5 separate regions of the Homo sapiens genome follow, and regions 2, 3, 4 and 5 are each linked to region 1. The links are contacts of gene promoters, found by promoter capture Hi-C in blood cells and fetal thymus (Javierre and others, 2016). All regions are on one chromosome and are shown on one strand. Each heading gives the region's core, a stretch centred on a gene start or on the middle of the fragment in contact. The rest is flanking DNA. Distances are from core to core; before and after follow the strand shown.

Region 1 (5,120 bases), core at 838-3,337:
GGTGAGGGAAGGGGAATAGCTGTTGGGTAGATCACCAATAATGTCCACCAGACACTTACGTAGTACCAGCAATTGATTTATCACAATGTAACACACAAGTGATGATACTCAAATTAAACTATACTAGTGCTAAGGAACCAGTAAAGATTAGTGGGGATTATGGTAAACAAGAATAACATGATCTATTAATAAAAGAGAGCCACGCCAAGCGTGGTGGCTCATTGCCAGTAGCTGTGGCTCAGGCCTGTAATCTCAGCACTTTGGGAGGCTGAGGTGGATGGATCGTCCGAGGTCAGGAGTTTGAGACCGGCCTAGCCAACATGGCGAAACCCCATCTCTACTAAAAATACAAAAATTAGCCAGGTGTGGTGGCGTGTGCCTGTGATCCCACCCACTTGGGAGGCTGAGGCATGGGAATTGCTTGAACCTGTGAGGTGGAGTTTGCAGTGAGCCGAGATTGTGCCACTGCACTCCAGCCTGGGTGACAGAGTAAGACTCTGTCTCGAAAAAAAGAAAAAAAAAAAAAAAGAAGAAGCCACTACTTTGCTCTAAGCAATGTGACCATGCAAAAATATAACCCTTCTGTTGCAAGATCATCAACATTTTTTAGAGAAACTGATAATTTGGATTTTTATGTAAAATAGCCATATTTTAAATGTTGGCAACTAAGTTCATTTTTGTTCTTGTTTTTAACCACGCAGGACAGCCAATACTGTCTAAAATAAACAAAGCATAACTGTTGGCTAAATGCAGTCTGTGAACCTCTAGTTTTCTGGGCTAGAAAAACCATTACTTGCCATTCAGTAGTTCTATGAATGAAAGGCTTGCTAAGAGTAGAGGAACCAAAGAAGATGAGAGAATGAGTGTCATTGTCTCATACAATGCTTTTCGGCAGGTGTGTCCCCACTCACATGTTCTCAGGCTCCCACTTCACGGAATGAAATGTGAAGTCCACTTGGGGCCAGTTAATTCTTTCCAAGATAGTCAAGGTGTTCCACTGCCAGGCACCAGGAACACTTGTTTCCCTGGTGTTGACCATCTTACTTCATTTACAGGTAAGCCCTAGCAGGTACAGGGACAAAAGTCTTCACACTAACAGAAATCCAGTGTAGATTAGCTTCTTTTTTTCCCAAGATGCCTAAATTCTATTTTTTAAAAAAGATATAGCGATCATTCTTCCATTTCTAGACCCTTAGCTGACGTCATTAGGTAGTTTATCATAGTTCTGCGAGACATACAGCTTTTCATTAATAGGTTAGATTAATTACCGTCCTATCATTAAAACGCATTTAGTTTAACTGAATGGAAAATAGCAGTTTGTCATAAACTTAAAAAAAAAAATCAATGCTTAATTAGCTTAAAATAGACTAGTACTGAGATCAGAGACTGATTGGCGTTTATCTTTTCCCTGGACAATTTCTTGTTCCCAAAAAAGCACAAGGGCAGTAGTTGTCACTCCTGCTTACGCATTAGAATCTAGTGGATGGAAATGCGGGGTTTGGGGGGAGGAGATGAGGGGAACGCTTTTTTAAAAAAGCTTTTGTCCAGGCCAAGTGATTCTAATGTGTAGACAGGGCAGAATACCGCTCCCTGTGCGGGGGAAAAAATCCCCAACATCTGAAATTCCTCAAATCCCTCAGATTCTCTCCAGAACTCTTCATTTCAGCACGTAGGGGTACCAACGAACAATTTTCTGAGGTGTCTGAGGCTAGTCATGTCCCCGGAGATTGACGGGACCGTCAGCCAATCGGCCGTCTGAACGAGTGATGGCAACCCCAATGACAAGCAACAGAATGAGGAACTTTATCCCCGCAGAAAGACCAGATCGCAGTAGCAAAGGTCAACAAGTCAACAAAAGCCAAGGGCTCTCCGTCAGGCATCAGCGAGGCCCGAGTACTCTTAGAGGTCGTAGCCAGGAGAGGGTCCCGCGCTTGCCCAGCGTTGCTAGGGAGGCGGCGCTTGCTCAAGCTTCTCGTGCCCTCTCCGTACGTCACTTCCGCCCGGCGGGGTCTCATAGTCCTATGGGCTGGGTTGAAGCCACTTCCTTTTTTCTTTCCCTTTTTCCTCTCCGTGGCCCCGCCTCCCGGAAGTTCTGCCTTGTCTCCGCCGCGGGTCAGGGGTGAGAGCTGGAATCTCTGCACGGGCCTTGGTGAGTAACTGCTGCGAGTTCTGTTCCCGCGCGGCGCCAGTTCAAAGAACTTAGGTTAGATCACGCTTAGGGCCCAACAGGACTGTGCCAGGCCTCAGGAGTCTCCACCCTCTCCAGTTTTGGGGCCGTCAGTCTCCTGGGCCTGCAATTATCCACGCTGAGGCTGAGGTCTTTGGCTTTTAGCGAGTTGGATTGCAGCCTTGTTCTGCTTCTGTGTCTTCTCTCTCCAGGCGAGGTCCTACTGAGGTTGTTGCCAGCGATAGTCCTCTCCTGGAGCTTGAATTGGAAGCAGAGTAGTCTTGTTAGTCTCGGTGATGGCTGCGTTGTTTCCTGAAGTAGCCAAAGTGCTTTAGCATCCATTCCGCCTCCTTTGAGCACCCTGGGAGGTAGGCAGGGCAGACGAAAAATATATTCGTTAATATTGTGCAGTTGAGGAAACTGAAGCTCTTGGCGAATTCACTGTTTCAAAGCAACACGGCCTCTAACAGGCAGAACTGAAATTCGCACCCAGGTCTAACTAACGTAGGGTTGCATAAAACAGTGGAGAGAGCGTTTGGAAATAGGGAAAACACTGCAAACGTTAAAGAAGAGCTGGGGTTTCTGAGTGCTTACTTTGTGTTCGGCTTTGTGCCAAATTCTTTCTATAATTATATCATCCATTTTATTTTATAATAAGCATAGGAAGTATATACTGTGGTTATTTATTCCTGGGTTAGGAAACTGAGGCTTAGAGATGATAACTGACTTGTCTAGTACTAATGACTTTAGTAGGCATTTCACAGATCTCTTTCAGCTCTGTGATTCTTTCAACACTGTAGTATTAACTTCTGGCATAATCAAACTGCCCTTTTCTGATTTTGGCATTACAGGAAGAGAGATTCCAGAACTTTATTTTTGGTCTCTTCACCCTTTGCCCATTGTCTCATTTCTTATCACCATTCTTATCACCATCCTATTTAGAAATTTATAGTCATGTAAATTTAGCCTTGACTTTCTTTTTTTTTTTTTTTTGAGACGGAGTCCCGCTCTGTTGCCCAGGCTGGAGTGCTGTGGTGCGATCTCGGCTCACTGCAAGCTCCGCCTCCCGGGTTCAAGTGATTCTCCTGCCTTAGCCTCCCGAGTAGCTGGGACTACCGGCGCCCGCCACCACGCCTGGCTAATTTTTTGTATTTTTAGTAGAGACGGGGTTTCACCGTGTTAGGCAGGATGGTCTCGATCTTCTGACCTCTTGATCCGCCCGCCTCGGCCTCCCAAAGTGCTGGGATTACAGACATGAGCCACCGCGCCCGGCCCGCCTTGACTTTTACTCTACAATTTAATTTTTTTTTTTTTTCCTCAAAGAGAAATATGGAGATGGTTGTGGAATTAATGGATCCAGGTTAAAGGGTTGGCCAGAAAAGTTGCTAGTTTTTACTCTATTGTTTTACTCTATTGTTGCTTTGCTTACATATATTATGTCAGTTTCTGCCTTTTTTTCTATCAGGAAAACGACTGTCTTCTTCTGCCAAAATGTCAGGAATTGGAAATAAAAGAGCAGCTGGAGAACCTGGCACCTCCATGCCTCCTGAGAAGAAGGCAGCTGTTGAAGATTCAGGGACCACAGTGGAAACAATTAAGCTAGGAGGTGTCTCTTCAACGGTATGAGGAAACAGTGCCATGAAAGTGTGCTTGTCTTCTGTCAGTTGCAACTTGAAACTAAAAATTCATGGAAGCTTTCTGGAGTATGGGGAAGCTATTTGAAAAGAAGAGGGAAATAAAACAGGCTGAAAGTAGGTAAAATGATGTGGTAGTCAGTTCTAGAGGAGAGGTAGATTGATAGTTGTTCTTTGTTTTCAAGGTGTACTTATATTCTTTCGAGAATCTGGGAAGGTGGTGCCTGATACAACATTAACTATAGGTATTTAGCAGTGGGAAGATACACATTTATTTTTCATTCACTGAAAAAGTCAGTACCAGATTCTAAGAGACAGTTTAGCAATCATTGAGAGTATGGTGAAGAGTGAGAGTCTGAGACCAGATTGCCTGGAGTTGACTCTGAGCTGTACCACTTCCTAGCTGGCTGACCTTGTGTTATCCTTCCTTTGCCTGTTTTCTTGTCTGTAAAATGTAATTAGAGTACCTGCTACATTAGATTTTTATGCATATAAAATAAGAGTCCCTGTTAAGGGCTAACACTTTGCATTTAATATAGTAAATAGTCAATAAATGGGAGGCATTCATAGCTAATATTGGGCTAGATAATATAATGGTGCATAACATAGATATTATCCTTGCTCTTATGGAGCTGACAAAATGAGTATTATATACCAAAATCTCATAGTAATGTTATATATCTGTTAGACATCAGAAGTTTACAGGTTTTGATCTACGTCAAGATTTTGCTTTTTTGAAAATCAGACATGGGGATGTGATATTAAAATGTTTTACATTTTGTAAAATGCTTTACATTTGTATGGCTTGCAAAACCACATCTATTGCTTATTTGATTTTGAGGCTGAGGTTTATTTTAGAGAGGCTGATTTTTTTTTTTGAGTCAGAATAATAGGAACATTCATAGTGAGTTGTTGATGAAGTGTCATTTCTGAGGCTGCCTGAGGTTCTGGTACTTAATATTGCTGGCAGGAAGTGATTTTTGTTTTAGCACTGCCTTGCATCATGCATTCCAAAGGCATTTATTCACTCAATATATAAATATTTGTTGAGTATTTGTTATTTGCCAGACACTATCCTTTACACTGAAGACAGCCCCTAGACTTTAGTTTGTAGGGTAGCACTGACAAGGGAATAGACTGTTTAGAGTGGGGTATGTGCTGTTGACAGGGATAAGCACATACTTATGGGAAGCACATAGCACACACCCCAGTGTGGACTTTATCCAGAGGCAATGAGGAGTTAGTGGATAGTCTTAAGTAGGAGACTAACATGCTCTGACTTGTGTTTGGAGACTATAGAAAAGCAAGGATTATAAACA
Region 2 (5,120 bases), core at 1-2,500, 3.6 Mb before region 1:
AAGCACATCACGTGGTCTCCGCAGCACGTGACCCGTGCCTTCGCCGTAGGTAAAAGAATGACGCACGTCAGTTCCAGATCGTGCGTTTTACACCCCTCTCGGCAACGAAGTCCGCTGCCTGGGCCTAAACCTCTCCAGAGTGTGGCACCGCCGGTGTTGGAAGTTACCTGTCTCCAGAGCCGGCTTAACGCAGCCGCACGGGGTCGCTGTAGGCCGAGGCCCCGACTCCTCCAAGCCGCGCATGGCTACTGGTTGCTGAGGTGCCCACCCGACGCATTCAACCTTCCGCTTCCGCTCTCCATGCCTGACGCATGCGCAGTGGCCTCGCCGGCGAGGTCCCGCGAACCCAGGAGAATGTGCGCGCGCAGGGTGGCGTTGAGGGAAGCTTTGAGTTCTCCATGGGGCTTCGAACCCTATCCCGGGCGTGTGCCCCTCCGGGACCCCAATCTCGTTTATCTTACACACAGCTGCTACAGTTGCCCGCCCTCCTAGGGTAGAATGCGACTCCGGCTTCCCGCGCTTTTTGAGAGGGAACACACCTCCATGAAGAACTCGCAACTATGTCTCTCTCGAAACATTATTAAGTAACCTATACGTCCAGTATGACCCTAATTTTTAAGGGATGTGTATATGTAATTAACACAGAGCGGAAGGACTGGACGTTAAGAAATGTTAAGAATTCTCAGGCACCTGTGGTCCCAGCTACCCAGGAGATTGAGGCGGGAGGATCGCTTGAGCCCAGGAGTTTGAGGCTGCAGTGAACCGTGATCGCGCCACTGCACTCCAGCCTGGGTGACAGAGCGAGACCTCGTATCAAAAAAAAAAAAAAAAAAAAAAAAAAAAAAAAAAAAAAAATTATCCCTGGGTGGTGGGAAATTTTTCCATAATATAAGTTATGCTTTGTCAGAAACAACCCCAAATAAGTCTTATTTCAAGTGTGGTGGATGTTATAAAGGAGCCCTACTATGTGCTAGGGGTTAAGGAGTGGGAACTGTTTCTTGTGCTCCACACCTTACCGGAACTGAAGTGAGAATGGAATTATAAGAGTCAACATGCCATGTGCATTGTGGGGATTATTGTCGTTTCTGGACAGCTCTGAGAAGCTAAGAGCTAACAAGAATCATTTAATCCCATGCAATGACCAGTTGTCCTTGCAATGATAGCCTATCTTTTACCCACTTGTAATGCTGTCTCTCACCTTTAGTAAGTTTCTCTGTATATAATTCTCTTTCTGGGAGAAATTTTAAAATCTTTTATCTTTTTATCTGTTAACATCTGCAGTATAAAATATTCAAAAGCATATGAGTCACAGATTGAAAAGTCTAACAACCATGAAAAGATGTTTCCATGTCTGTCCATTTGTCATTGATTTCTGGTAGAAAATAACCAGCAGGAGGAGCCAAATAATTAAAGATTGTGGTTTAAAAAATAAGATAAAACTGATCAAATTCATATAGTGTCTTTTGGCAGGTCATTTTTACAGGACAACTTGGAAAAGGCTGCCATTTTTTTTAGGAGGGACAGCTCTGTGCAGCTGGAGAAACAAGTTTGAAAATCATTGTTTTATATATATATAGCGCGCGCGCGTGTGTGTGTATGTGTGTGTTTATAAAACTGGGCCAGAATTACTGCGCTTGCCACTAGATGGTGGTGTTGCTAAAAATGATAGTCCCGCTTTATCTGTGGAAAGACTAGATTTAAAGAGATATTTGCCCTCCTGGAGGGCATGGTAGACGTTGTTAATCACACAAAAAAATATGTAATTACCAAGTGTGACAAGTACTGAAATGCAAAGCTGATTTGAATATACTAGGGAAATAGATTGCTACTTCTTTTATAGGTAAAATTTCTCTTGACTGAAAACGGGAACTTAAATATGCAGCACATTTTTTAGTCTATGATTTGAAGTTCTTATTATCTTGTCTGGAATTATATGTGATTATTTGCAGTTTATAAGACTTAACCTCTCCTCCAGATGTAAGACCTAGAAATCTGCCTTAAAGAAATGACCTAAATAATTATGTAGTCTTCAGCTTGTACTACTTTGAGAAACACTTCTCAGTAGAGTGATTCTTAACCTCTCATTTGGGTGAAGGACCCCTTTGAGAATCAACTAAAGCTTTGAACCGTCCCACACATCATTTTGGCTATAATATCATATGGTTCATGGGTTTCTAACCTAACATGAGAGGAGGGCAGCACAAAGTCAAGCTAGAAGGATTCTTGCAAAACTTTAATTCTGTCACCTAAAGGTTCTAAGCCAAGAAGAACGCCAGAAGAATTTTAGATGCACAGTGATGTTTAAACAAGAATGGTGAGAAAGCAGAAGTGGTGTGTGAATGCAGGGAGTGATGTAAGAGGGCAAGCAGAAAGGGTCCCGAGAGGTGGAGAGAGAAATTCTGCTTCCTCTAATGTACTGCATTCCTCTTTCCCTCTCCTTCCCCATCTCATCTTTGTGCTCCTGTGCACTGTACGTATGCAAATCTCTTAAGGTCCATCTTAATGCAACGCTGTTAGAACTTGAGACTTCAGTTTACTCTTTTTTTTCCTCTAATTTTGGCCCACTCTGGCAGGTGAAATTGAGACAGAAGCACATTCCAAAGAAGAAAAAAAAGCACTGAGGAAGTCAGATGTGACTTTGGGTGAGTACCTTCCCTCTATGTTATTCCCTCATCTTTAAGTGAGAGTGATAATCACCGCCTGGCCTATTTCACATACTTTTGTACAGATCAAATAAAATAGTTTATGTGAAAGTATAAATGTTGAAGTGTCATTGAGAGGTAAGAAACTATTATATGGTTGTGGCCGGGCGCGGTGGCTCACTCCTGTAATCCCAGCACTTTGGGAGGCCGAGGAGGATCACGAGGTCAGGAGATTGAGACCATCCTGGCTAACATGGTGAAACCCCGTCTACTAAAAATACAAAAAAAAAAAAAAAATAGCCAAGCGTGGTGGCGGGCGCCTGTAGTCCCAGCTAGTCGGGAGGCTGAGGCAGGAGAATGTCGTGAACCCAGGAGGCGGAGCTTGCAGTGAGCCGAGATGGTGCCACTGCACTCCAGCCTGGGCGACAGAGTGAGACTCCGTCTCAAAAAAAAAAAAAAAAAAAAGAGACGAAACTATTATGTGGTTGTGCTGCCCTGCCCTCAGTATGTTGTGTAATAAATATAATAGGGGTATGAATAATTGTGCAATGAATACATCCTGATGGTAAAAAATTTAATGTACACACAAAAGGGGGTAGGCAGATAGGAGGGAAACAATATTGTAACATCCCACTGTACTATTGGTTCTCAACCCTACCTCCACTTTAGGATTGTCAGGAGAGCTTTTAAAATAAAAACATCCTAAATGCAATTCTATATCCTGGATTGGACCCTGAAGCAGACAAAGCACATTAGTGGAAAAATTCATGAAAACGGAATAATGTCTGTAGTTAATGGTAGTGTAACTATCCTGATTTCTTAGTTTTGACAAATGGCCCATGGTTATGTAAGACGTTAACATTGGTGTAAACTGGGCGAAAGGTATATAGTAACTTTTGTACTATCATGACAACTTTTCTGTAATTCTAAAATTATTCCTCCAAAAACTATTATTTGAAGCATAAAACAATTAAAAAATAAATATACCTATGCCTGTACATCAGCTAGATGGGGGAATCTGAATCCCTGGGGGAGAAGTCTGGACATATATGTATTTTTGAAACCTTCCCAGGTGAGTCTAATGTACCAGAAGGGTTGAAAGAACCACTGCTCTCTCATGTTCATTATACCATGAATGCCTGAGGGACTGTGACCCTGTCTTGTTCTTTGATATAGCTAGTACCTAGCACAGTGTCTATATGGAAAGCTTGTGCAAGTGTGTTCTTGCTGAATGAAACTTTATTTGCAAAAATATCCTTAGTCCTCTGTAATAACAGAAGGAAAAGTGAAAACAAAAAATACCAGGGTAGATTTTCAGACATCTTCCCATCCAGAACAGCTTCTATTCCTGCCCCGGTCTCTTGTCGTTTTCAGTTAATCTTTACCATTATCACCATATTTACCATATTCCTAAAATAGTGAAATTGCCATTCCATTGTTCAAAAATCTGACTTCATTCCCCATTTTTAACAAGTGATATATTTCTTGGTTAGGTAAGCAAAATATTCTATGCTCTAGTAATATGAGCTTTTCAGCATGCAAGCCTACTACTATTTCATATGGACTCTACATTAACCATAGTTTGCCTGCAGTTCTCTTGAACATGTTTTGAACTCACCCTTCTCTTTGTCACATACAGTAATGCTGCTATCCTCATCTATGCAAATACTTTCCGTCTTTCAAGGCTTCATGCCTGTGTAATTTTTTCAGGTCACTCCAGCAAAAAGTGAGCATTCTCTGTTTGTATCTACCATTCAAATGGCACCAGCCCTTACTATTTTCTTTTGTGATTATTTGTTTTCTGTTTTATTTCCCCATGAAACCAAATTAACCCCACCGTGGGGTGTTAGATAGGTCTTCTAACCTCCGCAATTCTTAACATGATGGTATCCACACAGTTAAGCATGTAATAATGATTTAATGTACATTGTGCACAAATACAATATTTAAAAAATAAAAATAGAAAATCAAAATTCAAATACAAAAGTAAACTACATTCATCACTCCAAAATATCTTTTAAGGAGAATTGTTAAAACTGACCAAAAGAGTCAACTAAAGCCTGAATAAAATTTTGATGCTACTGTTACATTAATAATTGAACAGCATTTACAAGAAAACTATATACTCCACAAAATGTATGTGTTCAGTCTTAGTCACTTATCTGCTCTTAAGACGTAAATAAATGTTCTTAGGGGGGAAAACCAATTATCCAGTCCTCCCCGCTTCCTTATTTGTCTGTTCCCACCACTATCCTCTCCCCGACCTATACATACATACACACACACACACACACACACACACACACATTCTAGCATGATATTGTCTATGTGGTAGAGCCTTAAAAAATGTTATTTCTTTCAGATATGGTCTACAAATAGAAAAAATAATATTAATGAGCATTGTCAAAAGTTTTACAATATTTTGAGAAAATCACGCATAAACTATTAAGCTGTATGTTCCATTGGACCACAACTTTA
Region 3 (5,120 bases), core at 1,547-4,046, 3.5 Mb after region 1:
TCATAGGGTGTAACCAGTTGGAGGCCTCTAAAGGGTACCTAGGGGTGTTACCAAATTCTTTTAGTTTAATAAAAACTCTAAAGAACATGGCAACCCTGCCGTGCTTGGTGGCTCATGCCTGTAATCCCAGCTCCTTGGGAGGCTGAGGTGGGCGGATCACTTGAGGCCAGGAGTTGGAGACCAGCCTGGCCAACATGGTGAAACCCCATCTCTACCAACAACAACAACAATAAAAAAACAGAAATTAGCCTGGTGTGGTGGTGCACACCTGTGATCCCAGCTACTCGAGAGGCTGAGGCAGGAGAATCACTTAAACTGGGAGGCGGATGTTGCAGTGAGCTGAGATCACACCACTGCACTCCATCCTGGATGACAGAGTGAGACTCCATCTCAAGTAGAAGAACATTGTAGTTGGGGCTCTAGAGCCGCTTGCTGGAGCCTGCTCCCACTCTGTGGAGTATGAACTTTCACTTCAATAAATCTGCACTTTCATTGTTTCTGTCTTCTCTCATTGCTTCATTCTTTTGTTGCTTTGTGCATTTTGTTCAATTCTTTGTTCAATGTGCCAAGAACCTAGACAACTCACAGTCAAGACTTTCCATCCTGTAACAAATGCAGAGGTGGCCAGAAAGCTGAGTGCTTCAACTCAGGGATGAGAGTGGAAGAAATTGCCAGAAAATAATTAGGAACAAGCGAAAGAAAAGCACTTGGAAAGAAAGCAGTCTTGAAAACAAACTTTAAAAGAGTATCAGTGAAATACAGATCCAATTACCCTGCCCTGTGGACCAGGCAGTCCTTAATCCTCACAACAACCTTGAGTGGTAGGATCTATGATTCCCATTTCACGTGATGAAACCGAGCTTCAGAGATGATGGCTTGCCAAGATCACACACTAAATACTGACATAGCTCACTATAACATCTTGTAGAGATCTGACTAGTTTACAAAGCATGATTAAATGCATTATCTAATTTAAGCCTCACAATTACTTTGTAAAGTAAACAGAAAGTGGCTGTTAATTTTGCAAGTAAAGAATTCCAGGACTTTTGATTCTCAGTCCAGTGTTGTTTTGTTTTTCTCTCATTTTTCTTCCCTTATTTCTTGACACATTGATGATAATGAAGAATAGATGTGAGTACAGGATTCCTCAAACCTGAATTTAACTGTGTTTGTGAGGGTCCAGCTCAGGGACAGACATTCAGTAAACCCTCCAATGATAACTGATATTGTTGTTTTTCTTATAATTACAACTATTGGCTTTGTTCAATAAAGCAATATTTATAAAAGTAATTTATTAGAATGAGAAGTACAGAAACCAAAAATGGAGGGGAAATTTGAATGAAGATACGATGTCAGAAATGAGGGAAGGAACTCTAAATAATACTTCGGAGCCTGAACTTTGGAGTTAGACAAGTTGAGTTCACATGCCAGCCCTGCTGCTTATCAGAATGGGGAGTTTGGGCAAAGTGGCTAACAGCCCATCGCCTCCACTTCCTCATCTTCAAGGCTGCCACTTCACGAGATATTATTATGAAGATTGAAAGAGATAAAGTACATAAGATGCTAGCCCAATGCTCAGAATAAATATTTAATAATTACAGCTATTATTAAATCCTGGTTATGGATGGAAGAGTGGACTTGGTAAAAGTCCAAGCCGCAGCAGGTTTGAGAATAAAATAACCTACATTGACTGCTTTGAGTGTTTATCAGTTTGTAGACTTCATTTATATCAACTTTAAAAAGGATAATCTCTCTTCCTCAGGCCCACTGTTTTTACACTCTGATTATAATTAACTTGCCTCTTAATGACACTGCATTCATGACTGATGTTTCCCAGTTGTAGGTTTTTTAATTCCTATATTTCTCATAAACGTATTTGGTAACTGAATCTAGCAAATGAGTACAAAACAAAGAGTCATAGCCCTTTACCTTTAATGTCTATGAAGTGAAAGAGATCAAAGGGGAAACTCTGAACTTACTGTCTCATTTATGAGAAGCTTTGGAACAATTTATGAAGGCGACAGATGTTCTGCTTCCTAGAACCTTTTTGTTCCATCCCCAAATCTATATTTTCCTTTAGTATATTGATTTCTTGTTACAGAGCAGGAATAGCTATTAAATATCTTTATTTGGAAGCTTGGGGGTGCCAGAATGTGAGAGGAAAAATGCATCAGTAGCTAAGGGACAGTTGATGGGGTGGGTGCAGGAGGGCCCAAGAGAAGGTAATCTGTGTCTGGGAAATTATTTACAATTTGAAAGGCACAGAGACTTGCCAGAGGAAGAAAAGAGGGAGCAAATGAGAGAAGCATCCAATCACGCTGAGCCCTTTGATGGATGAGGAAGATACTTTAAAAGATGAGAAAGCACTTTCCCTATCAGCCAGATGGCTCATCTAATCTCTCTTTGTAGCTAGCAGCAGAGGGGAAAGATCCAGTGTAAAAAATTATGGAATATCTGTTGGGAATAAGCTGATGCAAACCAATCACAAATCGAAGTGTTTTTCTTTTCAGTTTTGATGAGGGGACACTGATTTCTATTTGGGGGTGGGACTGGATTTTGACTACCAAAATGTAGCTGGAAATTGAGTTGATTGATTATGAACAATGTTCCAAACACTGTTTCTCTCAGCAATGCAAATAACATTTCTGTGGTGTATTTATAGTTTCAAAGCATCCTCACCTGCATTCTCTGATTTTATCTTATAAATAGCCCTGTGAGGTAGGTGTCATTATCCTCATTTTATACTTGAGATAAGTGAGGCTTACAGAAATTAATTAACAACAGTCTCCAAACTTGGGTCTGTTTTACTATACTAGCTTTCTTTGGGTCTTCCAACAAATGGCAATCTATGGCCACAGTTCCCACAAACAGCTTTCTTTTTTTTTTTTTTTTTTTTTTGGTGGGGGGAGGGGCGGGGGGCATCTCTGCCAAGCATCTCCTAGATTTCCATAATGTTTTTCCCTCCAAGCCAATTCCATGATCCTTGGCATCTCTCAAAGGCCTGAAGAGGCCACCTGAGGTTGCCTGGAGGGTGAGTGCTAGGAGTGGAAAAGGGTGGCACAGTCCTATGAGCCACTAAGCTACTGCTTCCCTTGGCTTTGGGGGACGCGGTGTCCTGGTGACATCACTGTCCCCTTGCAGTGCCCTCTCTTGTATCCCCTTAGAGCTCCTGGGCTGCCTTCCAGCCATCCTAAGTATCCCATCCCTTCAAAGTCTGTTTACTTCCATCCCCCTCAGGACATCTCAGCCAGGAAAGCAATCACTTTTTGCACATTACTATCTCCTTAAGATAATTTCTAGCTTAGAGAACAAACAGCCAGGGAAGACAATGTCTTCCTTGGCCACACTGGACATGCTCCATGGGCAGAAAGCCTCCAGGCTTGAAGCTACTTCTCCACTTCCTCCCCTCCTGATAACTTCCTGGCCTGTTGGAACCTCTTCCACAGTCGGTGGTCAATAAGCTTAAAATTGTGCCTACACCCAGAGGACAGGGAGTCTTGCATCAGCTTGGCAGTGCAGAGTAACGCCAGCTATAGTTGCAGAGACCACAATAGTTATTAGTTAGAATATACATGTGCCTGTATTTGAACTTTGGTATCACCACTTGCTAACTGTGGTACGTTCTCTGTGACTCAGTGTATGCATTTTTCAAGTGGGGTAATAATATTACATATAGAGTTATAATGAGGATTAAAAGTGTTGTATATGTAAAGTGCTTAGAATTGTTCTGGCATAAAAAAAACTCCATAAGGATTCAATCAATTAAATTGTTTAAATTCCACTTTTTGAAGTGCCTACTCTATGCTAGGTTCTTTACATCTGAAATTCAGATGCCAGCTGGAGTTATCCTGACCCCTCAGATGGAAATAAGTGGTTAAGACCTCCTTTTCTATGGATTATGGTAAACCAAATAATCTTCCCAAGCCTTCTTTGAATTCCAAAGGGTTCCTTATATTTCTTGATTAGCTCAGGCTCCCAACACCAGCTTCTTCAGAATTATTCTCGTAAGGGATTGTTTTGCTGTAGTCCACATTGTATCTCACAGATGTTTAACTCAAATTAATACTCACAGGAAACTTATAGAGGCGTTCACGTATGTAGTGACATTTATTAAAGTTTGGAAAAAAGGAGGTTTTACATTACAAAAAAACCGTCAATTTTATTTTATTTATTTATATATATTTTTTGAGATGGAGTTTCGCTCTTGTTGCCCAGGCTGGAATGCAATGGTGAGATCTCGGCTCACCACAATCTCCGCCTCCCAGAACCCAATCAATTTTAAATTCAGTATCAGTCATCTCTATTCTTTAAGGCCTTGGACCAGGTCCACATTTTAAGATCTGGCCTCCTGCTGAATTCCTTAATCTTTCTCTCTCTTCCTTTTTCCTAGTGTCTCAGTCCATTCAGGCTGCCATACCAAAATATCTTATGCTGGGTAATTTATAAACAATAGAAATTTGTTGCTCACAGTTCTGGGGGCTGAGAAGTCCAAGATCGTGGTGCCAGCATGGTCATGTTCAGATGAGGGCCCACTTTCTGATTCATAGATGGTACCTTCTCACTGTATCCTAACAAGGTGGAAGGGACAAATAAGCTCCCTTAGTCCTTTTTATAAGGGCACTAATCCCATTCATAAGGGATCTCTCCCCATGACCTAAACACTTCCCAAAGACCACGTCTTAATACTATTGCATTGGAGATTAAGTTGAAACATGTTAATTTTGGGGAAACACATGCATTCAGACCATAGCCCCTACTATCTTTCCTCCTTACGCCTTCACTCCAGATTGCCCCAGACTCCAAATTCTTGTTCCATAATGCAGAAAAATCCATTAAGTTCTCTCTAACCAGCTGTTTAAAAATCTGGCCAGCTGGGTGCAGTGGCTTACACCTGTAATCCCAACACTTTGGGAGGCTGAGGTGGGAGAATCATTTGAGGTCAGGAGGTCAAGACCAGCCTGAGCAATGTATTGAGACCCTATCTCTACAAAAATTAAAAAATTAGGTGCAGTGGCATGCACCTGTGGTCCCAGCTACTCAGAAGGCTGAGACAGGAGGATTACTTGAGCCCAGGTGGTTGAGGTTGCAGTGAGTCATGATTGCAACACTGAGCAACAGCC
Region 4 (5,120 bases), core at 1,488-3,987, 3.4 Mb after region 1:
TGCCTTGTCTTTTCACTTTCATGTTTTCTATTGTTAATGTACAGAAGTTTTGTGTGCTTACTTGTTTTTGTTTGTTTGTTTGTTTGTTTGTTTTCTGAGGCGGAGTCTCACTCTGTTGCCCAGGCTGAAGTGCAGTGGTGCGATCTCGGCTCACTGCAACCTCCGCCTCCCAGGTTCAAGCGATTCTCCTGCCTCAGCCTCCCAAGTAGCTGGGATTACAAGCACCCACCACCATGCCCAGCTAATTTTTTGTATTTTTAGTAGAGATGGGGTTTCACCACATTGGCCAGGCTGGTCTCAAACTCCTGACCTCAAGTGATCCGCCTGCCTTGGCCTCCCAAAGTGCTGGGATTATAGGCTTGAGCCACTGTGCCCGGCCTATGATTTTCAATGAAGTTTTGTATTTTGCTCTGTAAAGCTTTTGCATGTCTTTTTTTTTTTTAACCACTGTAAGTGGTATCTTTTATCAAATTAATGTTGGTCCTTTGTTGGTGGTGATAGAAATAAAATTGATTATTGTACAATTGCAGTTTTTTCTCCCAGCTGTTCTCACTTAAAAGGGTTAGTAATTTGTTAGTTATCTTGAAATTTTCTTGTACACAATAACATTGTCTTATATCTTACAACTTCTTGTCTTACTGCGGGTGGAGGGGGGGCTAGGACTTGATAAATTAAATGTATAATAGAAAAGCAAGTAGCCAGAAGGCTTGTTCTATTCCTGATTATAAAGAGAACTTCTGGCCCAGAGCAGTGGCTCACACCTATAATCCCAGCACTTTGGGAGGCCGAGGCGGGGAGATCACTTGAGGCCAGGAGTTCCAGACCAGTTTGGCCAAAATAGAGAAACTTCAACAATTAGTCTGGCATGGTGGCCCATGCCTGTAATCCCAGCTATTTGGAAGGCTGAGGCATGAGAGAATCACTTGAATCTGGGAGGCAGAGTTTGCAGTGAGCTAAGATCCCACCAATGCACTCTAGCCTGGGCAACAGAGTGAGACTCCATCTCAAAAAAAAAAAAAAAGAAGAACATTTGAGAATCACGCCTATAATCCTAGCACTTTGGGAGGCTGAGGCCAGTGGATCACAAGGTCAGGAGTTTGAGACGAGCCTGGCCAACATGGTGAAAGCCCGTCTCTACTAAAGATACAAAAAATCACACAGGTGTGGTGGCGTGCATCTGTAATCTCAGATACTCAGGAGGCTGAGGCAGGAGAATCACTTGAACCCAGGAGGTGGAGCCGAGATCGCGCCATTGCACTCCAGCCTGAGCAACAGGGCGAGACTGTATCTCAAAAAAAAAAAAAAAAAAAGGAAAAATCTAAATATTACTAAATATCGCAAGTATTGCTTCCTCCCTTTTAATGTTTCACAGTGTATGGGGGGTTTGTTCAGAACACAATAGCTGCTCTAGTGATCAAAATCACTATACATCAACTATTATTTCAATTTTTCAGTATGCCTATTGCTGGGCTGCCCCACACAAAGAACAAATAAAAAATTATGTATCTTGTTAACTTTTGCCAAGTTGGCCAATTTCATGTTATCCATAAATGCCACACTAAAGAGAGTGAACACACACATGGTCATAAAACAGCAGGCTGAAGCTAACTCCAAAAACAAAGAAAAAATCCAACGCTAAACCATTCTGCATTTAAGTTCCCAAATGACTCCCATGGAGGCCCTTAAATTGTATTTGTTTGGAAAAAACAAACAAACAAAAACAAAAGGAGTTCATCGTTAGCATGTGGAGGATGTTCATTAGCGGCTGTAAGAAATCACGGTCTAAACTACACCGTTCAAGAAACCCACTACAGTCGTGCAGACCAATAGCACTATTCTAGAAGGTAGCTATCCCTCGTGCCCTCTAAGAACCATCGTTTTGCATCGTTAGCAAGAAGCAAAGAGTAGATCTTAAACCTCTTTAAACTTCTCTGCGTCCTATTCAAAAATTAGGATACCACTTAACTCTGCACTTTAAAAAAGGATTTCAAGTGTGCTGCATTTTAAAGACACTTCATTACAAAAGTTAGAAAATTAAAGTATAAAACTTATCAAAACAAGTTTTTACGTTTTCAGGATGATTCACTGCAGAATTTCTTTAAACAGACTCCCCTCTTTTTTGTGTGTTGAGTCTTTAGGGAAAATAAGTGATAGTAAACATCAACCACAGACACCTGCAAACTAGGAAAAAAAATAGGGTTGCTTGGACATGGTAGGGAAAATAATTTATTTTCACAGAAATTTAGCCGGGCGCGGTGGCTCACGCCTGTAATCCCTGCACTTTGGGAGCTCAAGGTGGGTGGATCACCTGAGGTCAGGAGTTCAAGACCAGCCTTGCTGACATGGTGAAACCCAGTCTCTACTAAAAATACAAAAATTAGCTGGGTGGTAGTGGCACGCGCCTGTAATACCAGCTACTTGGGAGGCTGAAGCAGGAGACTCTCTTGAGCCTGGGAGGCAGAGGTTGCGGTGAGCCGAGATCGCGCCACTGCACTCCAGCCTGGGCAACAGGGTGAGACTACGTCTCAAAAAAAAAAAAAAAAAAAAAAAAAAAGAAGAAGAAATTTAACATACAGGCGATTTTTCAGGTTCTCATTTGCTAAACCAACAATGCAGAATTTGTGAAGTAGGGGCAACAAGTTGCTGAACCTGAGAGACGCCTCTAAATGCGCTCAGAGGTTATTTCAACTGTGCTGTTTGCTAGTTCAGGTACAACAGGCAAGACAGAAAGATGCCACCGCTCTCTCCACCCTCCCAGCGCCGGATCACAGAGCGCAGACCATGCACCCAGCCTTCCACACACGTCGCGATCTCGCCGCTTTAAGCTGCTGGGTACCCTCGGCCCGCCCACAAGAAGGCGGGGCGGCGCGGGGTCTGCTGGGAGTTGTAGTTTCGGGCCGGGCCCGAGAGCTTCTTGACTCGTTTCCTTCTACCCCCACCGCCGCACAGCTGCCTATGGACTCTGGAGTTGCTGTGTATTGAGCATGGGGCACAGCCGGGGGTAAAAGGGGAGAAGGCTCCTTTAATCTGCGGATCGGGGCGCCGTTGATGAGTGTTAGAGGTGTTGGAACGCAGAGTAAGCGGCGCGCATGCGCGGCTGCCGGAGGTGGGGGCCGCTCCTCCCGTGCCACTCAGGGGCTGGCTGCTGCCTTAGGGCTGACTGGGCTCATAGGTAGGGCCTGCGGTGCAAGTTTGTGATAACACTGCCTGTAGGCTGCGGTTGTTAAGGCAGAGATTTGAAGGGGGTCGGTTGGGGGTGCTGGGTAGTGTCAGTAATCAAGGGTTTTAATCGCTACTCCATCCTGGCTTTCGGGAACCTCCCACCTCCTACCCTTTCCCAGTTTGCAGAATTGCAGCTTTCCCCATCCCCCACCCCGATCGCTTCGTGGGAAGCCTTTCCATACTGTGTTGTGAAATCCGTTAGACCTCAGCCAAGGCCTTTTAGCCCGCCCGGAATTCAAGCTGCCCCCTCCTTGCCAAATCCAGATCATGCGAGACAACAAAAGGCTTGAGGCACAAGCCCTACAAGGCAGTGCCCCTGCCAGTTCTCCTAAACTTATTGTTTACCCTGCCCTCTTCTTCCCCTGCAAATTCAGACAGCCAGGCGATAGATTAGATAAATAGATTCCATGTCCTTACATTTGCAACAGGCTTTCATAGATTCCTTTGCTCTGGAAGGTGGCATCATTATACAAAAGGACAAGTGAGAACACACGAATGTAATCAGTGGCAGAACCCTGGGACTGAACCCTACAGGAGTTCTAAGTCTATTGTTTCTCCTACCACTTCACAAATGTGTCAGAAAGAGCTGAATGAGGTGACCAGCTGCACCTGACGCTAGCTGGCTTTCGGAATGCTCAGGCCCTGGGCCCTTGGCTCACCACAACCACTCTTAAATTGACTAACAATTGCCCCTTAGTGAGTGACCTCTCCAGCAAGCCCGGAGGATTTTGCCCAGGGTAATGTTTCACATTGAGCACATACTTTGTGCTGGGCCCTGGAAAGGATGTACATCAGATCTTAAGTTAAAAGTTTCCTTTCCCCCAGGGAGACCAGGCTGTCCTATCAAGTATTCTGTATTTCCCAAAGGATAGTATTAGCCACACTTTGTTATATGATTGCTTGTTTGCCTGTTTTCTTTTCTTTTCTTTCTTTATTTCTTTGAGACAGGGTCTCCCTCTGTCACCCAGGTTGAAGTGCAGTGGTGCGATCATAGCTCACTGCAAGTTCAGACTCCTGGGCTCAAGCGATCCTTCTCCCACCTCAGCCTCTGGAGTAGCTGGAAGTACAGGCGTGCACCACCATGCCCAGCTAATTAAAAAAAAAAAATTTAGAGGAGGTCTCACAATGTTACTCAGGCTGATTTCAAACTTCTGGGCTCAAGTGATCCTCCTGCTTCAACGTCCCAAAGTTCTGGAATTACAGACACGAGCCACCCTACCTGGCCTGCCTGCCTTGCTTGAGAAGCTGCAGCACTATTTTGTTCACCATTGTATTAGCAGTGCTAACATATAGTGGCCTTTTCATACATGTCAAATAGACATATAAATGATGAATGCATGAGTCCAGTGTCTGACCTTCATGTCTGTGCCCAGAGTCTGTTGGGAGAGGTGGAGATGAAAATAGAGGTAGGCTGGGCACAGTGGCTCACACTTGTAATCCCAGCACTTTGGGAGGCCGAGGCGGGCAGATCATGAGGTCAAGAGATGGAGACCATCCTGGCCAACATGGTGAAACCCTGTCTCTACTAAAAATACAAAATTAGCTGGGCATGGTGGCACATGCCTGTAGTCCCAGCTACTCGGCAGGCTGAGGCAGGAGAATCGCTTGAACTTGGGAGGTGGAGGTTGCAGTGAGCCGAGATCGCTCCACTACAACCTGGTGACAGAGTGAGACTCCGTACCCCCCGCCACCAAAAAAAAAAAAAAAAGAAGAAGAAAATAGAGGTACATGTTTATACAAAGTTTGGAACAGGAAGGCAGATGCACATAACTGCCTGGCGTGGTTCCAAAAACCTGAATGGAGAAGGCAGTATCTGCTAATGGGGGCTCTCTGCTAAGCTTTGGAATTGTCCATTATTGTATTAGCATATAAGAAGTTATCACACCAAAGGCTCCCCA
Region 5 (5,120 bases), core at 205-2,704, 3.2 Mb after region 1:
AAGACAAGGATGGGAGAGATTTGTTAAACAAAATTATAGCTAGATAGGAGGAATAAGTTCTAGTGCTCTATACCACTTCAGGATAACTATAGTTAATAATATATAGTTTCAAATTGCTAGGAGGATATTGAATGTTCTCAACACAAATGATAAGCCCCCGGGGGAGTGGCTTCTGTGAGACCTAAATCCTCATCTGCCACAGAAGGAAGGCAACACATACTCTCCATAACTGAAAATGCAAGAAATAGCAGAAAATGACTATTATTTAAAAATACGGGCCAGGCGCAGTGGCTCGTGCCTGTAATCCCAGCACTTAGGGAGGCTGAGCCGAGAGGATCACCTGAGGTCAGGAGTTCAAGACCAGCCTGCCCAACATGGTGAAACGCCGTCTCTACTAAAAATAGAAAAATTAGCCAGGTGTCGTGGCGTGCGCCTGTAATTCCAGCTACTCAGGAGGCTGAGGCAGGAGAATCTCTTGAAACCGGGAGGCGGAGGTTGCAGTGAGCCAAGATCATGCCACTGCACCCCAGCCTGAGCGACAGAGCAAGACTCTGTCTCAAAAAAATAAAAAACATACGGAAACAGGTATTAGAAGAACAGCTTAAAATGTTGAAGGTGGTTAGTCTGGGGACCAGTACTCTGGGACTGGGAGGACTAGACCAGAGGTCGGCTGTTTTGCTCTTAAGGCTTACAGAACGATCTAGTTTCAAACTATCTATGTTTAACTTCGACTTTTTCCTATCAGGCTCGGTGCTGCTATTCCACTGAGCTCATGGAAAATTAAATCTTTATTAGGAGCCTTCCAAGATCACAGTGGGGTGGCAATGGGGACAGATAATGCAGAAAAGCGAAGGCTCACTGGTCTACAAATACACGTCTATCACAACCTGTAAAAGTTAACCCTGTCCCAGCCTGGCCAATATGGTGAAACTCCGTCTCTACTAAAAAATACAAAAATTAGCGGGGCGTGGTGGCGGGCGCCTGTAGTCCCAGCTACTGGGGAGGCTGAAGCAGGAGAATGGCGTGAACCCGGGAGGCGGAGCTTGCAGTGAGGCGACATCGCGCCAGTGCACTCCAGCCTGGGCGACAGAGCAAGACTACGTCTCAAACAAAGAAACAAGTTAACCCTGTCAACATCTCGACTTTAAATGCAAAGCACTGCACATGCACACGCTGAACACCTCCCCTTCCTTCTCCAGGGGCAACACAAGCACAACCGCCGCACATTTACGAATCTACACAACTGCGCATCGGAGCGAATGAGGTCAGGGCCCAGAAAGGTGGGGCAGGAACGATCCCAGCCTTCAGCTAATTCTGTCACCTCTAACGTCTGGGGCAAGAACGTTTCAGGAAACCAAGGGGGACCGAGGCTCAGCGCCGAAGAGAAAGACGCCAACTGCGGGACCTGTCGCGCCTCCCGCGCCGGGGTGGAGCTGACCCCGCCGAGTCCCGCCCCTGCCTGAGTTCGCCAGTGGTCCAGGAGCCGCTTTTTTCCACTCGGGAAGACTTCAGAGAAGTCTCACAAAGGACTCGGCTGGCTGCTTTTCTCAGTGCCGAAGCCGCGCCATGCTCGTTCTCAGAAGCGGCCTGACCAAGGCGCTTGCCTCACGGACGCTCGCGCCTCAGGTACTGGCCGCGGGGGCGCGCCCGAGCCCTGGCCGGAGGGGAGGGGAGGGGCGGGGGGTATTTCTGAAGCGTGCGAGCCACGCTCAGGCGCTCCCAGACCTGGGGCCCCGCGCCGCCGCCGAAGTTCTAACGCGGTCTCTGGAGCCGTCTGGCGCGCAAGGAGGAGGCTACAGGCCGGGGTCGTCTCGCTGGCAGTCGCTGTCAGAGGGGTTTTCTAACTGGATGCCAGTGTTTTTGTGATTTTTGTTTTTGTTTTTGAGACGGAGTCTCGCTCTGTCGCCCAGGCTGGAGTGCAGTGGCGTAGTCTCGGCTCAGTGCAACCTCCGCCTCCCGGGTTCAAGCGATTCTCCTGCCTCATCCTCCGGAGTAGGTGGAATTACAGGCGCCAGCCACCACGCCCGGCTAATTTTTTTTGTGTTTACTATTTAGTAGAGTCGGGGGTTTCACCATGTTGGTCAGGCTGGTCTCGAACTCCTGACCTCGTGATCCGCCCACCTTGGCCTCCCAAAGTGCTGGATTGCAGGCATGAGCCACTGTGCCCAGCCTGATGCCAGCTGTTTCTAGCCTAAATGCCACAACTCCCGGGACACCCCCGTGGCGCCAGCTGTTGCGTTTTTTTAGGATAACATCTCCAGATACAAATCTCCGAAAATCAACTTTAAAAGCAGTTATTAGAAATACCTCATTGGCCCATTTTCCGAGATAATAATATTTTTAAACTGTAGATACTAAGCAGTTTTTTATTTTCAGAATTTGATTAAACTGACCCAAAAAGAATGGCCATCAAAAGAAAGGATAGTTGCAGGTATTTTTTGGTATGAAGAAGGGTTTTCTAAGAAAACTAAGACACTTGGGCAATAAGGGCATAACTCATACTGGAGATGAATGAACTCAAGATAGACAATTATAATTAAGACGTTATGCACACAAACTACATAGACATTTGCATGTTGTAACCAAAAATATGTCAGTGAAAGATGCCTACTGAAACTGTTGCGATAGATTATTCTGGGTAGTGAGCCTCAGGAAATTGTCACATGCTAACCATGCCTAAATGAATGGATTTGTAAACTAGAATGCCACGGGAGTGGTCTGTGTATACACGTGTGTTTACATAAATATTTGCATGTACGTACATACAGACAGACTGGATAATTTCTGACAGGGCATTTGCTACTGAACATTAAGCTCACTCAGGCTCAGAGGGCCAGATTAGGACAGAAAATTTACCCATTGGGCATATGACTATTACAAAGGGTGGTTCTTAAAGGATAGTTCCATAAACTTGGTATAATTGAGTGCACTAAATGTACATACTTCTTGATATTGCATCTGTAATTAGAAACAATGATGGAGACAATTCTCATTTGTTGAGTTTTTTTCCTTTTCAGCCTTTATGCAGTATACACCCATAGTACAATGCAATTGGATAAGTTATAGCTTCCTTTTATATTAGTTACATTCCAGTCCTGTTTTTGACCGGTAGTCTTCATCAGTAGATTCAGGAAATACTTTGACCTGAATAGCCCTTCCTGTTTTTTTAGGAACCTTTTAAAAACAAGAGTTTTTTGTTAGTAAACGTATTTTTGGGCCTGCCAAAAGGCATGTGTACTTAATAAATTTTTTTCAATGTGTGGAACTAATACATATGGTATTGAGTAAGATGGAATATTGGCTAAACAGGGGAAAACCCTTTGTAAATTAAAGAGACTAAGTCTTAAATGTAGTTCTTCGGTAAAGGAGTATCATTATGATCCCACAGCCTTCTTGTGAGCAAATTCTCGTGAAAAAATGGCTAGAGGTAGACCCCTGCTAGGAAACAGTTGCTATATATTCATCAGAATTAAGAGTAGTTATCTTTATTGACATCTCTATGTAAACAAGTGTATATGGAGAATTGACAACAAAAGTAAACAATGGATAATGAGTCTATGTGTGTTCCTTGTACCAGACTCAGATTTGGTTGTAACCAAATCTGTAATTGTACCTTCCCAAGATATTTACATTTGTCTTACCTCCTTCAGGTGTGTTCATCTTTTGCTACGGGCCCTAGACAATACGATGGAACGTTCTATGAATTTCGTACTTATTACCTTAAACCTTCAAATATGAATGCGTTCATGGAAAATCTTAAGAAAAACATTCATCTTCGGACCTCTTACTCTGAATTGGTTGGATTCTGGAGTGTAGAATTTGGAGGCAGAACGAATAAAGTGTTTCATATTTGGAAGTATGGTAAAGAGTCATCCAGTTTTAGTATTCAGTATAGATTTTCATTCTGTTAAATGTAACATAAGACTTAGTTCTTGGATCTATATTACCATAGATACATACAGGTTAAGTAAGACTTTTTAAAAGCAATACCAAAAAAATAAATTTAGCAGATCTTCTTCCCAGTGGTACACCTCTAACCACCCCTTGCTTGAACTCTTATGTTATCATAAATGAGAAAACATGCAGTCTCATATATCAAACCATAAAATTGTGAATTAGACTTTAATCCTCAGAAAAATGTTAGAATCGTTTGCTATAAAGATAGCTCATGAAAAATTTAAAGCAGTAATTGTAAATGTTCAAGTGGGTTAAGATCACCGTTGGGCCTGCCAAAAGACATGTATATTTAATAAAAATGTTTTAAATGTGTAACTAATGTATATGGTATTGACGAAGATGGAATACTGGCTAAATAAGGGAGAAAGCTTTGTAAATTTATGAGACTCCTAATTGCAGTTCTTGGGTAAAGGAGTGTCATTAGGATAAGATAATTTTTTTTTTCTTATTATTGTTACAGCTAGGGCTGGATATCAGCATTTTTGCAGAAATAATTCACCCATTTGGGAGCTTTATAAAAATGGAGGTTTTTAAAGGATGATAGTTAACTTTTAAGCGTCACCCAACTCTGAGATTTAATAATTCTGTTATGTTTAGAGACCACTTCTTTTTTCATTTCTGTACCCCAGAGTTTCAAGGAATTCTTTCATACTACCCTAGGGAGGTAAGGAAAAGGAATGAGAGACAGTCCTTCCCATATTGAAGCTGACCTACCCCTGGTTTAGTAGAGGAAAGAGAACAAGTAACAAGAATCCCCAGAATGTTTGTTACTTCCATGTCTGTTCTTAACAGTCCACATCAGGACTTGAGGATACCTAAAGAACTTTTAATAATTTCATTTACTGTTTAGTGATCAGTGTCCAAAGTTAATAGTCATAAAGTAATTTAATATGAAAAGTGTTCATTCTATGCTTGACGTAACTCTTTAGTTTTTCCCTGTTATAATAAAACAGACCCTATTAAAACATAATTTATGCTTTAGATAAACCACAAGTTGAAACATGTCCCATTGAAAAAACTGCTAATAAAGTGTTTATAATTCATTTATATGCTTTAGATAAACCACATATATAATCCACTTATGTGCGTTAGGTGAGCCACAAGTTTAATTGTGTCCCATTAAACTGCTCGTAAAGTCTTTACAATTCACTTGTAAGATAGGT

What was found. Contacts are between HindIII fragments. The CHiCAGO score rates a contact against its expected background, and 5 or more counts as called.
Region 2: a fragment that was not itself captured here is called in contact with the fragment with the promoter of RNF20 in region 1 in 1 of 17 cell types (fetal thymus); the score reaches 7.4 in fetal thymus.
Region 3: a fragment that was not itself captured here is called in contact with the fragment with the promoter of RNF20 in region 1 in 1 of 17 cell types (activated CD4 T cells); the score reaches 9.9 in activated CD4 T cells.
Region 4: a fragment that was not itself captured here is called in contact with the fragment with the promoter of RNF20 in region 1 in 1 of 17 cell types (total CD4 T cells); the score reaches 7.0 in total CD4 T cells.
Region 5: a contact is called between the fragment with the promoter of NIPSNAP3B here and the fragment with the promoter of RNF20 in region 1, in 15 of 17 cell types (total B cells, non-activated CD4 T cells, M0 macrophages and 12 more). The highest score is 31.0, in total B cells.

Annotation. Positions count from the first base shown.
Region 1 is chr9:101,531,766-101,536,885 of GRCh38, forward strand. RNF20 (ring finger protein 20) reads left to right here and starts at 2,088. Exons shown (of 20, transcript NM_019592.7): 1 at 2,088-2,149; 2 at 3,633-3,787. The coding sequence starts at 3,659. It also overlaps a transcript of PGAP4 not described here. RefSeq lists an enhancer at 1,830-1,959. The HindIII fragment of the contact is 1,893 bases long and covers 1,967-3,859 here.
Region 2 is chr9:97,922,251-97,927,370 of GRCh38, forward strand. TRMO (tRNA methyltransferase O) reads right to left here and starts at 250. Exons shown (of 5, transcript NM_016481.5): 1 at 168-250. The coding sequence starts at 243. It overlaps HEMGN (hemogen), which reads right to left. Exons shown (of 4, transcript NM_197978.3): 4 at 4,541-5,120. RefSeq lists an enhancer at 1-302. The HindIII fragment of the contact is 1,734 bases long and covers 384-2,117 here.
Region 3 is chr9:104,982,846-104,987,965 of GRCh38, forward strand. It overlaps CT70 (cancer/testis associated transcript 70), which reads right to left. Exons shown (of 4, transcript NR_184160.1): 3 at 4,469-4,568. Among named protein-coding and RNA genes, the nearest start is that of CT70, 6.4 kb to the right of the region's middle. The HindIII fragment of the contact is 1,325 bases long and covers 2,135-3,459 here.
Region 4 is chr9:104,965,462-104,970,581 of GRCh38, forward strand. No RefSeq gene overlaps it. Among named protein-coding and RNA genes, the nearest start is that of CT70, 24 kb to the right of the region's middle. RefSeq lists enhancers at 2,699-2,748, 2,829-2,878. The HindIII fragment of the contact is 4,642 bases long and covers 417-5,058 here.
Region 5 is chr9:104,762,675-104,767,794 of GRCh38, forward strand. NIPSNAP3B (nipsnap homolog 3B) reads left to right here and starts at 1,455. Exons shown (of 6, transcript NM_018376.4): 1 at 1,455-1,626; 2 at 3,651-3,861. The coding sequence starts at 1,567. RefSeq lists silencers at 1,184-1,383, 1,581-1,770. The HindIII fragment of the contact is 4,394 bases long and covers 1-4,323 here.